Regions from separate parts of the Homo sapiens genome. Here region 1 is linked to region 2. The links are contacts of gene promoters, found by promoter capture Hi-C in blood cells and fetal thymus (Javierre and others, 2016). All regions are on one chromosome and are shown on one strand. The core of a region is centred on a gene start or on the middle of the fragment in contact, and the rest is flanking DNA. Distances in the headings are between cores, read along the strand shown.

Region 1 (6,322 bases), core at 114-2,613, about 17 Mb before region 2:
TTTCCTGGAAGCCTGTGGAGGAGGAGTGATGTCTCTGATGCTTATTGTTAGGGAAAGGCATCTTTAAAAGGCTGCTGGAATCAGGGAAGACCAAAATTGAGGAGGAGTGTGTACAGGCAAGTTCCATTTGTGCAGATCCTGCATTTAAGAGTTTCACAATTATTCATGCTTACTGAAAAGCTAAAACCTAAAGAACAAACAAGATAGTCTGCCCTCCTAAAACTTCCCTAAAAACTTTGTTCTAACTGACAAGTCTTAACCTCTCCATCTCTCTATCCATCTCAGTAAAATAAAAAAATCACAAAATCTCTCTTGTTTATAGAGATGTACTTAGAATAAAGTGGAATAAAAGCTGTAAGGGAACACTATACTCTTGGAAGATAATGTGCTAACATAAATCCAAGAGGGTTTTAAGATAGTCATACAAACTAATATGCACTCTTCCTCAATTAGCAAATCAAAGTGCTTCAGGCAGAGAATGTGAATGGGCCAAGGTGGTAGCAGCGCTGCATGTAAGGGTTGCACACAGGCATACCTGGGAGTGGGAAAAAGAGGGGGAGCAGTTATCCCAGGTCTAGCAAGAATGTCTCCTCTCTCCCAAGCGTGCCTGGAGAGTGTCCTTCCACCCAGAGTAAACTCTTACAGGAACTTCCTCTCTTTGTCATGACAGCCCCATCTATAAACCCTAACAGGGAGAGCATCATTGCTTCATAGTTCTCAGTCAGCAACGATATCATGGTTTTTATTAAATGTTCCTAATGGTTTGACACTGCTTTCAACACTGTTTTCAGCAGAGCAAACAACTGCTGGACTGTTGGTGAACCTTTGCCTTCTCCTCCCAAAAGGACCAAGTTTGAGTTCAATTCCAGAATGGAGAAGTTCTTCTACTTCTCCCTGGTGAGTTCCTGGGGGCAGGGTCTGTACTCAATACATCTTTGTTTAGTGTCTGGAAAATACGGGGTATTTATTCAGATCTTGCAGAGTGGAGGAATATCAGATGAGGCTCCTGACCACCTAAAAAGGCTTCAGGTTACCTTTTCAGATTCATTTTTCCAGCACTCACGCCCATACCCCACTTGCCAGCAGGCTCAGCTTCTTACAATTCTCCAGTGCTCTTCTGTGACCTCTGTAGATGACAGAGGCAGGAAGTTGTGGCAGAAAGACTCTGGGTTTTCAAGGCTCCCCAAATTACATCCAAATCTCAGTTCTGACCCTTCCTAGATGGGATCTTGGACAGTTTACCAAACTCCTCTAAGCTTTAGTCTCCTTGTTTTTAAGGATCAGGGAAAATAAGACCTACCCTCCAGGACTTCTGAGATGATTGAGATGTTTAACTGAAAGTACTTAGTACTGCCTAGATCTTGGTACAAGGCCAGTTAATGTGAAGTCTCATGGGATGTCTTTCCCTCACTTCTCTGTCCAGCCCGTTGCTCCTCATCCTTCAAATCCAGCTCAAACACTGCCTCACTGGGAAGCTTTCCCTAACTCAGGAGGGCACAGTTATTACAGTTTCTCCTTTTCCATTGCTCCCACAGCACCTCCACTTCAGTCCTTACTATATCATATTCCAGTGATCTGTTTGCACATCTGTTGTACTCACTAACCTGTGGTCTTTGCAAACTCCTTGAAAGTGAGGACTATGTCTTAACCACCTTTGTAATGCCAGCACCTAGCACGGAGCCTGGAACAGAGCTGATACCCAATAACTGTCTGTTGAGTGAATAAATCAAAGAACAAATAAACGCTCAGCAGCCATCCTGAGTCAGGCAAGAGATCAAGAAGATCCTGTCACTGCTGTGATTAAGTGAACCTCAGACCCCATCACAATGAATGGTGTCTCCTCCTGATGCAGCAGGACATGCTCATCTCTCATCAGAACAGGAAAAAACATCATGAAATGTGGTGTCGGTCAGCATTCTTGTTGAAGGAGGCCACAAACCCTTATAGCAGAACAACACCCAATTTCTTTTCATAAGATTGTTTATTTTTGTTTTTCAACTAAAATGCACTTTGTGGGGATTCTTGTGCAACCCTTGATCTGTTCCTGCCTAAATGACTGTCTGTAAGCCCACGATCAATGCACAATGAGCACAGGTTTTGCATCGACTCCCTGAAACACATGGTCCCTACAAAGGCTGATAGCCATTATAGTAAGGAAAGGGTTTCTGGCTCACTTGTTTTAAAGTGGCAAAAGAACAGGAAATTCTTTCAAATGTAGTTAAGTGCCACTTACATATTTCCTTACATGACTATCACTACTAGGTTTAATAATCAACTTCTTTTTCTATCTTAGTCACTTGTACTATTTCGTAGATAAATCCATATGTATAACATCAAAGTTTTGTAAAGATGTAGATCATTTTTAGAATCCCACTATCTAGTGCTGCTGTTAAAATCTTCTCGTTTTCCAGCCCACGTTCATCTCTCATTTTTTTCTGAACTCTAATTACATCAACAAAATGAGCATTTGATTCTCTAATTATCGTACCATCTAGATGAAGAGAGAAAGGGGTAAGTTTCTTGGGACTGACATTTATCCTTTACCATCCTCTCCACACACACACGTTATGTTTAGCAGAGAGTTAAGTAGAGAGAAGACGCTCAGTAAACACCGGTGGGCTGGTGGGCAGAAGTGAGGGCTGAAGAAGAGCACTCAATCCAGAAAGTACACTGGCCTGCTGGCCTCCCAGGTGGGATGTCCTGGTCATTCTCTCGTTCATTCTCCCATTCCTTCAGCTAGCACACAGTATCTGCTTTGTGCTGAACCACACATCTGACACTTAACAAGCCTCTTATCATTTCATCCTTACAATTTCACCATGCTGTTCAAAGAATTTCATCCATTTCAAAAGATGGCCATTTTACCTCTTCTGTATGCTAAAAGCCATATCTAAACCCTGTCTGGCTATTTGTTCACTGACTCATTAATTCCCATACCAGCCATCTGCTTCAAATTGGACATTAAAAATTCTATCTACAGCCCTAACTGTCAATGTCAACTCCTTTTCATGCCAAGAGTGTGAGCACTTACAGAGGAAAGCCAGAAGAGCAGAAATGCCCTCTGGGCTGGATTCAACACATTTGCCCTCAGCCTACCCCTTTTCTCCTTGTGCTCACTTATGTACACCTCAGCTTCCAGCTACTCAACAGGACTAGGCAAAGCTCGAACATCACCTGCAGGACCTGGTTCATAGTATTTAGTCAACTGTGGACAGCTGCTGGCCAGATAGGTTGACTGGTCTATTCTCCAGCCTTTCTTTTTTCATCTTGCCCAGAATATACTGGGCAAGATGTTTAGACTGTGTGATTTGGAGGTGCTCTCAGATGTTTGTTTTGAATGTGAGAGCTGAAAGGTACCTTAGATAGTTACAAATGACCTCACTTTCTAGATAAAATGATAGAAGCCCAGAGAAGTTAAGAGGCTTGCCCAAGGTCACACAGAGCTGGCAGCAGAAGCCAGTCTGACTCCCAGCCAACACACTTTCTACTACCCGATCCTGCCTCAGAGAGCCAAACATGATTTCGGTTTCTAAGATGGCTGTCACACTTCACTCTTTCTCCTAAGGAACTCAATCTTTGATGAAGAATCTGAAAACCAACATGTGGAAAACAAACTACAAACCTTCCTTAGAGTAGAAAACAAGAAATATCCACCTTTTACATGACACATCGTAGATCTCTGCAGTCTGCTGAGAGGCAGCACAGTGTAAGGGAAGTGCACAGGCCTTGATGTTGGATCAACAAGGCTTCAATCCTGCGGGGCACTTACCCTCTTCAACCCTATCTCCTCATCTGTTAAGTGGATTCAGCTACACTGTTTTGAAGATGAAATAGGAAAATCTATGTGAAGATCCATGTACAGTCCCTTGACAAATGTTAGTTCCTTTCCCCTTTGCTTTGACAGAAAAACACCATGAGAGGTCCTGGAAATTAGTCCTTCAATGACAACTGCCTTCATTAAAAAAAAAAAAAAAAAAAAAAAAAAAAAAAAAACACAACTAGGTCTAAGGAGGCAGCTGAGAATCATAAGATGTGGTGGCGGTTGAGATCGTATCTACTGCAAAAACACCCATCGCTGTAGATGTGGTTGTGTGTATATGGGGGTGGGGGATGCAGTGCTGGTGGTGGTGTACAGACAGACATGAGCAGCAATTTCCTGCTGGCAGTGTGACGCAAAGCACAGGAAATGCCACCTTTTGAGTATGTGATTTTCAAACCATAAAAGACTAAAATTACATATGTGTATGTATGGTTATGTTTCCTTAAAGGTGGGTCAGGGCAGCAGGAGAGAAGACACAGGATAGGGGTGGAAGAGAGAGAAAGAATCCACCCTGATGTCTCCTTCACTGCTGGTCTGTGAAATGTCTCCACATGGGAGTTAGGGAAGCAGGCTGTGTAGCGATACATGGTAATAACTGGGTCCAGTACTTGTGGCTACAGGTAGTGGAGCAACATAAAAGACAGTGTGGTAGCAACAGTGATCTGGAACCGTTATTGTCTCAGCTGTACCCCAGAGACACCCCAGTGACTATTTCCTTGGGTACGAGTCCATGTTCTACCATTAACAGACCAAGTGATTTAGGAACTGGATATGTCTCTGTGCAACACTCACTTTTCCTATCCATGAAATCAAGATGGGAAGTAACAAAACCTTTTTTTTTAATTAGCTGGATGTGGTAGTACACACATGTGGTTTTAGCTACTTGGGAGACAGGAGGATCACTTGAGCCCAGGAGTTGGAGGCTGCACTGAGCTATGATTGCCTCACTGCACTCCAGCCTGGGTCACAGAGAGAAACTCTCTTTTTTAAAAAAAAAAAAAAAAAAAAAAAGATGGGAAGTGACATATAAACTAAATCATCTCCAAAGTATCTTGAATGAGCTTGGCTGTGAACAAGTCAAAGCACTGGACATATTAGGAATGGCAACATTTCCATTTGAATGCCAGATCTCATCTACCGCCATACTGAAAAAGATTCTAAAGTGATATCTGGTCTTGCAGGCAACAGTGGTGTATCCATTAGTGATGTCCTCTTGGCTACGGGAGAGTTATACTCCAAAGTCTATAAAACATTAGTATTTAAAAGAAAAGTCTGAATTTTAGTAATAAATTGGCCTTTCTAATGATGTTTTGATTGGGCTGATATAATTATATAATGTGTTTCTAAGCCAAATAACACCTAGGAGGAATGAGGCATTGTAAAGTCATGTTAGGGAAACAAAATTGAGATTTTAAATTTGCAACTGATAATCCATTAAATGGATAAAGGTCATTAGATAGTAAATTCCTTGAGAGCTGGGGCCATGTTTTCAATCACCCTGGAATTCTCTTCATATCATTGTCCAGAGCAGTTCCTTGTACTTAATAGGTGCTCAATTAACTTCTACTACATTAAATAATTAAGAGTTTTAGGAGTAATTTCCTTCTAAGGAATCAGTCTACTAACTAGAATCTCCTGCCCCTTTTTGGAGGTATAGGTAGAGTGGTGAATAAAGGAATTAAAATGAACTATCACATATTATGTGCCAGGAAGATTAAAAATTATTTTTAATTTAATTGACAAATAATAATTTTGTATATTCATGAGGAAACAGTGATGTTTTGATATACATAACATATAGTCATCAGGTCACTGTAATTTTGTATCCTTTATCAAATCTCTCGCTATCTCTTGCTTCCTAAAAATTATTTTACTTAATCCTGACATTAATCTTTTGAATTTAAATGTAGTATTATGATCATGCCCACTCTGAGTTGAGGCTCAGAGAGGTTAAATAACTTGCCCAGTGAAACACAGTTCATTAGTGGTAGGAATGAGATGCAAACGCATGTCAGTTTCATCTCCGGTTCCAAGCAGCAGAGTTTTTTGTGTCATGATCAAACCCTTACTGTTCCTTTCTGAAAGAATAACAACGATGAGCAGAATAGAGCAGAGGGAAAAGCACCGGCCCAAGAGATTTCTCATCATGGCTTTGGCACTGACTTAATGTGTGGCCCTGGGCAAGTCATTTACCCTTTCTGGGCTTTATCTTTTTTTCTGTAAAATGACTGATATGGAACAACAACAAAAAAAAATTTCATAGTTATTAGGCTATAACTCTGGTAGAAGAGGCAAAGACAAACAGCAATGGAATGGAAAAGGCGCTGACAAACAAAAGCCCATGGAGTAACATTTTCAGAGATCCAGTTCTGGTTCCACCATCCGAGGAGCAGAACAACCTCCAAACTATCCCCACAAGTCCCTTCAGGCCTAAAGCAAAGAGGGGGTCAGGCTATGAGTTGAGCCTTTTTCAGGGTCCACAAGCCATAGGTCTGCCATCTA
Region 2 (5,974 bases), core at 888-3,387:
CTGGATTCATAATGATGGCTGTTTACTTTTGAGGGTTTTTAAAAAAAATCCGGCAGAGATTTTTAAATAGTATATGGTAGTGATCTAATTTTATTTTCCATTAGAATAACCATTCATTCAGCATTACTTATTGAGTAATTAATCATTTTCTCATTAATACATAATGCCAGTATATCAAATTCCCAAATACATAGATATGGGTCTCTTCTTGGGGCTCTGTATCTCCTTCCTTTAATTGTCCATCTTAGGGCGTTTAATAATACAAGACTGTCTCAATTACTATGGCTTTATTGTAACTCATTACCTGGTAGGACAAGACCTTCCAATCTTACTTTTCTTCTTCAAAATTGTTTTAAATACTGTAAATTTTTTTTCTACATAAATGTGAAAAACGTTAGAAGGGCAACTGCAGCAGACATACATAGCTTATTTTTTTAAGATTAACAGCAACTTTATACTAGCAAAATGAAAAAAAATTAACTGAATAAACAGGTAACTGAATTAACTAGCTGTAACACTAGACTACAAAGTTATACAAGATTAAAAGTTATGAGGTACTATTTATTATATGTAAATATTACAAATATTTTTTGTTAAAAATATCTAAGGCTTTTGAGTTTTTGAAATGCAAGCTTTCCCCTATACTTAAGTATATTCATTATCTTACTGCTTTGGTCAGGACAAGAACTGAAAAAGAGAAATAATCTTGAGTTCAGAATGAACAATTCTTGCTATATATATTTTCCCACATGTGTTAGGAATGTTCTGTAAACCTTCCGAGAAATAGTGACTTGAACTAAATACTAAACTACTACCAAGCCCCAGGTGCATTTTTGGAAGTTTTTAGTCATTGGGAGCCATGGCATTTCTTTTCTCTGTATTACAAACTGTTACACTCACTTTCTTTGACTATTAACATTGGAACAGTAGACCTCCTGTTCTGTGACTGACTGGCAGGCAGAAATGACACAGACAGGAAATGGGAAATGGTTCAGGGTCTTGGAATTCCCCCGGCTCCCTAATTAAGTGGCTTGCTATTTGGAAGTTTTTTAAATATTTGCCCCTTGGAGTTCCCCAGAGAGAAGCAAGCATCGGATTCAACGGGCAAAGAGCGTCAACTTCAAAAGTCGTTCGTTGGTTGTCATACCACAAACATTTACTGCACGACACTGTGTCTATGGCACTATTGGGGGAGTATGGCGGGGGGATACAAAAGGTCCATGACTAGCAAAAGCCAAGGGTTTTTATTTACAAATTTTCTATTACCTAAGCATTAAAAAAAATTGGGCTCCTCTCTGGTTTATGTACAATTATATGTGCATGTACACCAATACACAGGCAGACGTATATATTTCATTTTATTGAAACATTCAGAAAATACTGGGAGTGAAGCCTGACTTGCAATACAGTTCTCTTTGCTGGCAATGAGCATCTGAAATAATGACACTTTTTTCTTTAGTGCATATGAACTGTTTGTCTCCAGAACAGAAAACCAAAAGTTTAAAAACAAGATACTCCCGTTGACATCAAGTCTTCAGAATTATTCATCTGATGCTTCCTAGTTTCCAAAGTTTCGCTTTTTTCGATTTGCACAGGCAGCTGTTGAACGCTGATGCTACACAAACGGTTACAATTGTTTACTTAAGCAAAAAATGCCACCAGACTGACTCCATCCTCAAAATGCAGTCATCTGGACGGGGGGAGGCATCACACTTGGGGAGCCTTGCCAGGGGCCAGATCATAACCCTGAGGTGACACAGGGTAGGACGCGCAAAACCACCGGCGCCAGGGCGTTTCCGCAGGGTTTCCCAAAACTCAAACGCAGCGGCTCACGGTTTGCCACGTCCCCCAGGAGAATGGTAGACACAGAGAGGAAATGTGGAGAGGGCACAAACCGCAAGGTGAAGAAAACGAACAAACACCGAGTTGATACGGATAGTCCCCGTTCCCCTGAGGGCCGACCCCGTGACTCCCGATGAGCGTCCAGTTGCGCCGGGCATCCTGGCCTCCCAGCGTCTTTCCCGGAGGTTCATCGCCGCACGGCGGAAAGCGCTCTCGGTTCCGCTTTCCGGCCCCAGCCTCCCGGGCGCCCTCGCGCGGCGGCTAACGCTGGTCCTCGGCCGGGCGCGCTGACGTCATCGTGCGTCAGAGTGAGCCCGGATGGGGCGGCGGGCTTCGGGAGCGCCCGGGCTGATCCGAGCCGAGCGGGCCGTATCTCCTTGTCGGCGCCGCTGATTCCCGGCTCTGCGGAGGCCTCTAGGCAGCCGCGCAGCTTCCGTGTTTGCTGCGCCCGCACTGCGGTGAGTGCTGCTCCTTCCGGGCTCGGGCGGCGTGGGGCGGGTGGGGACGCGAGGGCCCGCGGGGGCCCACTTCCCTGATGTGGCGGCGAACGAGGAAGGACGGGGCCTGAGGCCCTTCGGCCAAGGGTCGAGGGTCGCCGGGGGCTCTCTGCTTTCTACTCTCGCCAAGGTTTTATTGGATTCGGAAGCCCCAACTTCGAGACTTGCAGTCAAAGCGATTTTTAAAATGACTTGTTTTCAAGCCTCTGGCCGCCGCCCACTCTTCTGGCCCTTGGACTTTGACCAAGATGTTTTCTCGCAGTTTTTGCAAGGTTTTAAACTTAGCCCTCGGCGTTCTTTTAATGTAATACATTGAAACGAAGATATTTCGGTGGCGGCGATATTTCATATTTCATAGTTGCCACTGCGCTCTGTCATTCCAGTAGTCGTCTGTTGTGTATTGTGAGAAGCAACTCTGGGAAATTATTGGGTAAATCCCATAGTTTCTATTCTTTTCCCTTCCATCCTATCCCCTGCCCAGCTGCAATTTGCGTAAAGAGAATGCAGCAGTGCGGTGCACGTAGATAAAAATCTTTCATTTAAAGATAGGATATAAGACCGGGTGTAATTAAAGCAATCATGCCAGTGGTCGTAGTGCCGGAGCCACTGTTTCACAGGCCACTGTGTTAGGTTTTGTTTTCGAGTTGCTTTCTGTGGTCGTTGCTTTGAAATTGTAAGGGAATGGCAGAGTTTAAGAGTTTATATTAATGAACTCGTGGTGCATTTTACTGCAGTTTTCCTAGTCGTGGAGAGACTTGATATTACAAACTAACGTTGCTGTCTTAATTCCTGCTGTACTGCTGCTGACAGGGTGTAGTGGAGTGTCTGTCTGTCTTTTTAACCAATGTGCCTTTGCCTCCAGCAGAGTGCCAGAGTTACCTTTAGGCCAGAAAAGGGGAGGAGAGCAAGGACAAAATGTTTCCTGTGTGAAAATTTCCATCTGTCTCTGAAGTTGTGCGTTTTAAAGACACGTATAGTTAGTGCTATGGGGAGTATGTTGCATTTACTTATTTTAATTAATAGCTTTTTCATTTAGAAAGTTGTGACAAATTGCTGGAATTAAGATGTATTATCTAAAGTGTGAATTATTCTTAGACTTTACTGAATAAATTGAAGAGTATGTAAGTTCTATTTGGCATGCACATACAGTTTTCTAAAATACTTTTTGTTTTTTCTTTTCAGATTTACAACCCTGAAGAATCTCCCTATCCCTATTTTGTCCCCCTGCAGTAATAAATCCCATTATGGAGATCTCGAAACTTTATAAAGGGATATAGTTTGAATTCTATGGAGTGTAATTTTGTGTATGAATTATATTTTTAAAACATTGAAGAGTTTTCAGAAAGAAGGCTAGTAGAGTTGATTACTGATACTTTATGCTAAGCAGTACTTTTTTGGTAGTACAATATTTTGTTAGGCGTTTCTGATAACACTAGAAAGGACAAGTTTTATCTTGTGATAAATTGATTAATGTTTACAACATGACTGATAATTATAGCTGAATAGTCCTTAAATGATGAACAGGTTATTTAGTTTTTAAATGCAGTGTAAAAAGTGTGCTGTGGAAATTTTATGGCTAACTAAGTTTATGGAGAAAATACCTTCAGTTGATCAAGAATAATAGTGGTATACAAAGTTAGGAAGAAAGTCAACATGATGCTGCAGGAAATGGAAACAAATACAAATGATATTTAACAAAGATAGAGTTTACAGTTTTTGAACTTTAAGCCAAATTCATTTGACATCAAGCACTATAGCAGGCACAGGTTCAACAAAGCTTGTGGGTATTGACTTCCCCCAAAAGTTGTCAGCTGAAGTAATTTAGCCCACTTAAGTAAATACTATGATGATAAGCTGTGTGAACTTAGCTTTTAAATAGTGTGACCATATGAAGGTTTTAATTACTTTTGTTTATTGGAATAAAATGAGATTTTTTGGGTTGTCATGTTAAAGTGCTTATAGGGAAAGAAGCCTGCATATAATTTTTTACCTTGTGGCATAATCAGTAATTGGTCTGTTATTCAGGCTTCATAGCTTGTAACCAAATATAAATAAAAGGCATAATTTAGGTATTCTATAGTTGCTTAGAATTTTGTTAATATAAATCTCTGTGAAAAATCAAGGAGTTTTAATATTTTCAGAAGTGCATCCACCTTTCAGGGCTTTAAGTTAGTATTACTCAAGATTATGAACAAATAGCACTTAGGTTACCTGAAAGAGTTACTACAACCCCAAAGAGTTGTGTTCTAAGTAGTATCTTGGTAATTCAGAGAGATACTCATCCTACCTGAATATAAACTGAGATAAATCCAGTAAAGAAAGTGTAGTAAATTCTACATAAGAGTCTATCATTGATTTCTTTTTGTGGTAAAAATCTTAGTTCATGTGAAGAAATTTCATGTGAATGTTTTAGCTATCAAACAGTACTGTCACCTACTCATGCACAAAACTGCCTCCCAAAGACTTTTCCCAGGTCCCTCGTATCAAAACATTAAGAGTATAATGGAAGATAGCACGATCTTGTCAGATTGGACAAACAGCAACAAACAAAAAATGAAGTATGACTTTTCCTGTGAACTCTACAGAATGTCTACATATTCAACTTTCCCCGCCGGGGTGCCTGTCTCAGAAAGGAGTCTTGCTCGTGCTGGTTTTTATTATACTGGTGTGAATGACAAGGTCAAATGCTTCTGTTGTGGCCTGATGCTGGATAACTGGAAACTAGGAGACAGTCCTATTCAAAAGCATAAACAGCTATATCCTAGCTGTAGCTTTATTCAGAATCTGGTTTCAGCTAGTCTGGGATCCACCTCTAAGAATACGTCTCCAATGAGAAACAGTTTTGCACATTCATTATCTCCCACCTTGGAACATAGTAGCTTGTTCAGTGGTTCTTACTCCAGCCTTTCTCCAAACCCTCTTAATTCTAGAGCAGTTGAAGACATCTCTTCATCGAGGACTAACCCCTACAGTTATGCAATGAGTACTGAAGAAGCCAGATTTCTTACCTACCATATGTGGCCATTAACTTTTTTGTCACCATCAGAATTGGCAAGAGCTGGTTTTTATTATATAGGACCTGGAGATAGGGTAGCCTGCTTTGCCTGTGGTGGGAAGCTCAGTAACTGGGAACCAAAGGATGATGCTATGTCAGAACACCGGAGGCATTTTCCCAACTGTCCATTTTTGGAAAATTCTCTAGAAACTCTGAGGTTTAGCATTTCAAATCTGAGCATGCAGACACATGCAGCTCGAATGAGAACATTTATGTACTGGCCATCTAGTGTTCCAGTTCAGCCTGAGCAGCTTGCAAGTGCTGGTTTTTATTATGTGGGTAAGAAGCAAATAACTATACATTTTATCATTTTATTTTAATTTACATATTAGAACATACGTGTTTTCAATATTTAGTCTTTTTTTTCCTGAAGGTCGCAATGATGATGTCAAATGCTTTTGTTGTGATGGTGGCTTGAGGTGTTGGGAATCTGGAGATGATCCATGGGTAGAACATGCCAAGTGGTTTCCAAGGTAATTGTTTTGAAAAAGGTATTTGTACAAAAAACTCTGTGCTTAAAAGAAGTAGGCATGCCTACATGATTTTGTTTACCTTTAAATTATAACAAAGCCTCTTTTAT

The links. Contacts are between HindIII fragments. The CHiCAGO score rates a contact against its expected background, and 5 or more counts as called.
Region 1: a contact is called between a fragment that was not itself captured here and the fragment with the promoter of BIRC2 in region 2, in 1 of 17 cell types (non-activated CD4 T cells). The highest score is 8.7, in non-activated CD4 T cells.

The regions. Positions count from the first base shown.
Region 1 is chr11:85,748,959-85,755,280 of GRCh38, forward strand. All of the region lies in intron 2 of SYTL2 (synaptotagmin like 2), which reads right to left. Among named protein-coding and RNA genes, the nearest start is that of SYTL2, 59 kb to the right of the region's middle. The HindIII fragment of the contact is 219 bases long and covers 1,255-1,473 here.
Region 2 is chr11:102,345,077-102,351,050 of GRCh38, forward strand. BIRC2 (baculoviral IAP repeat containing 2) reads left to right here and starts at 2,138. Exons shown (of 9, transcript NM_001166.5): 1 at 2,138-2,300; 2 at 3,522-5,673; 3 at 5,768-5,867. The coding sequence starts at 4,779. RefSeq lists an enhancer at 2,690-2,759. The HindIII fragment of the contact is 3,484 bases long and covers 631-4,114 here.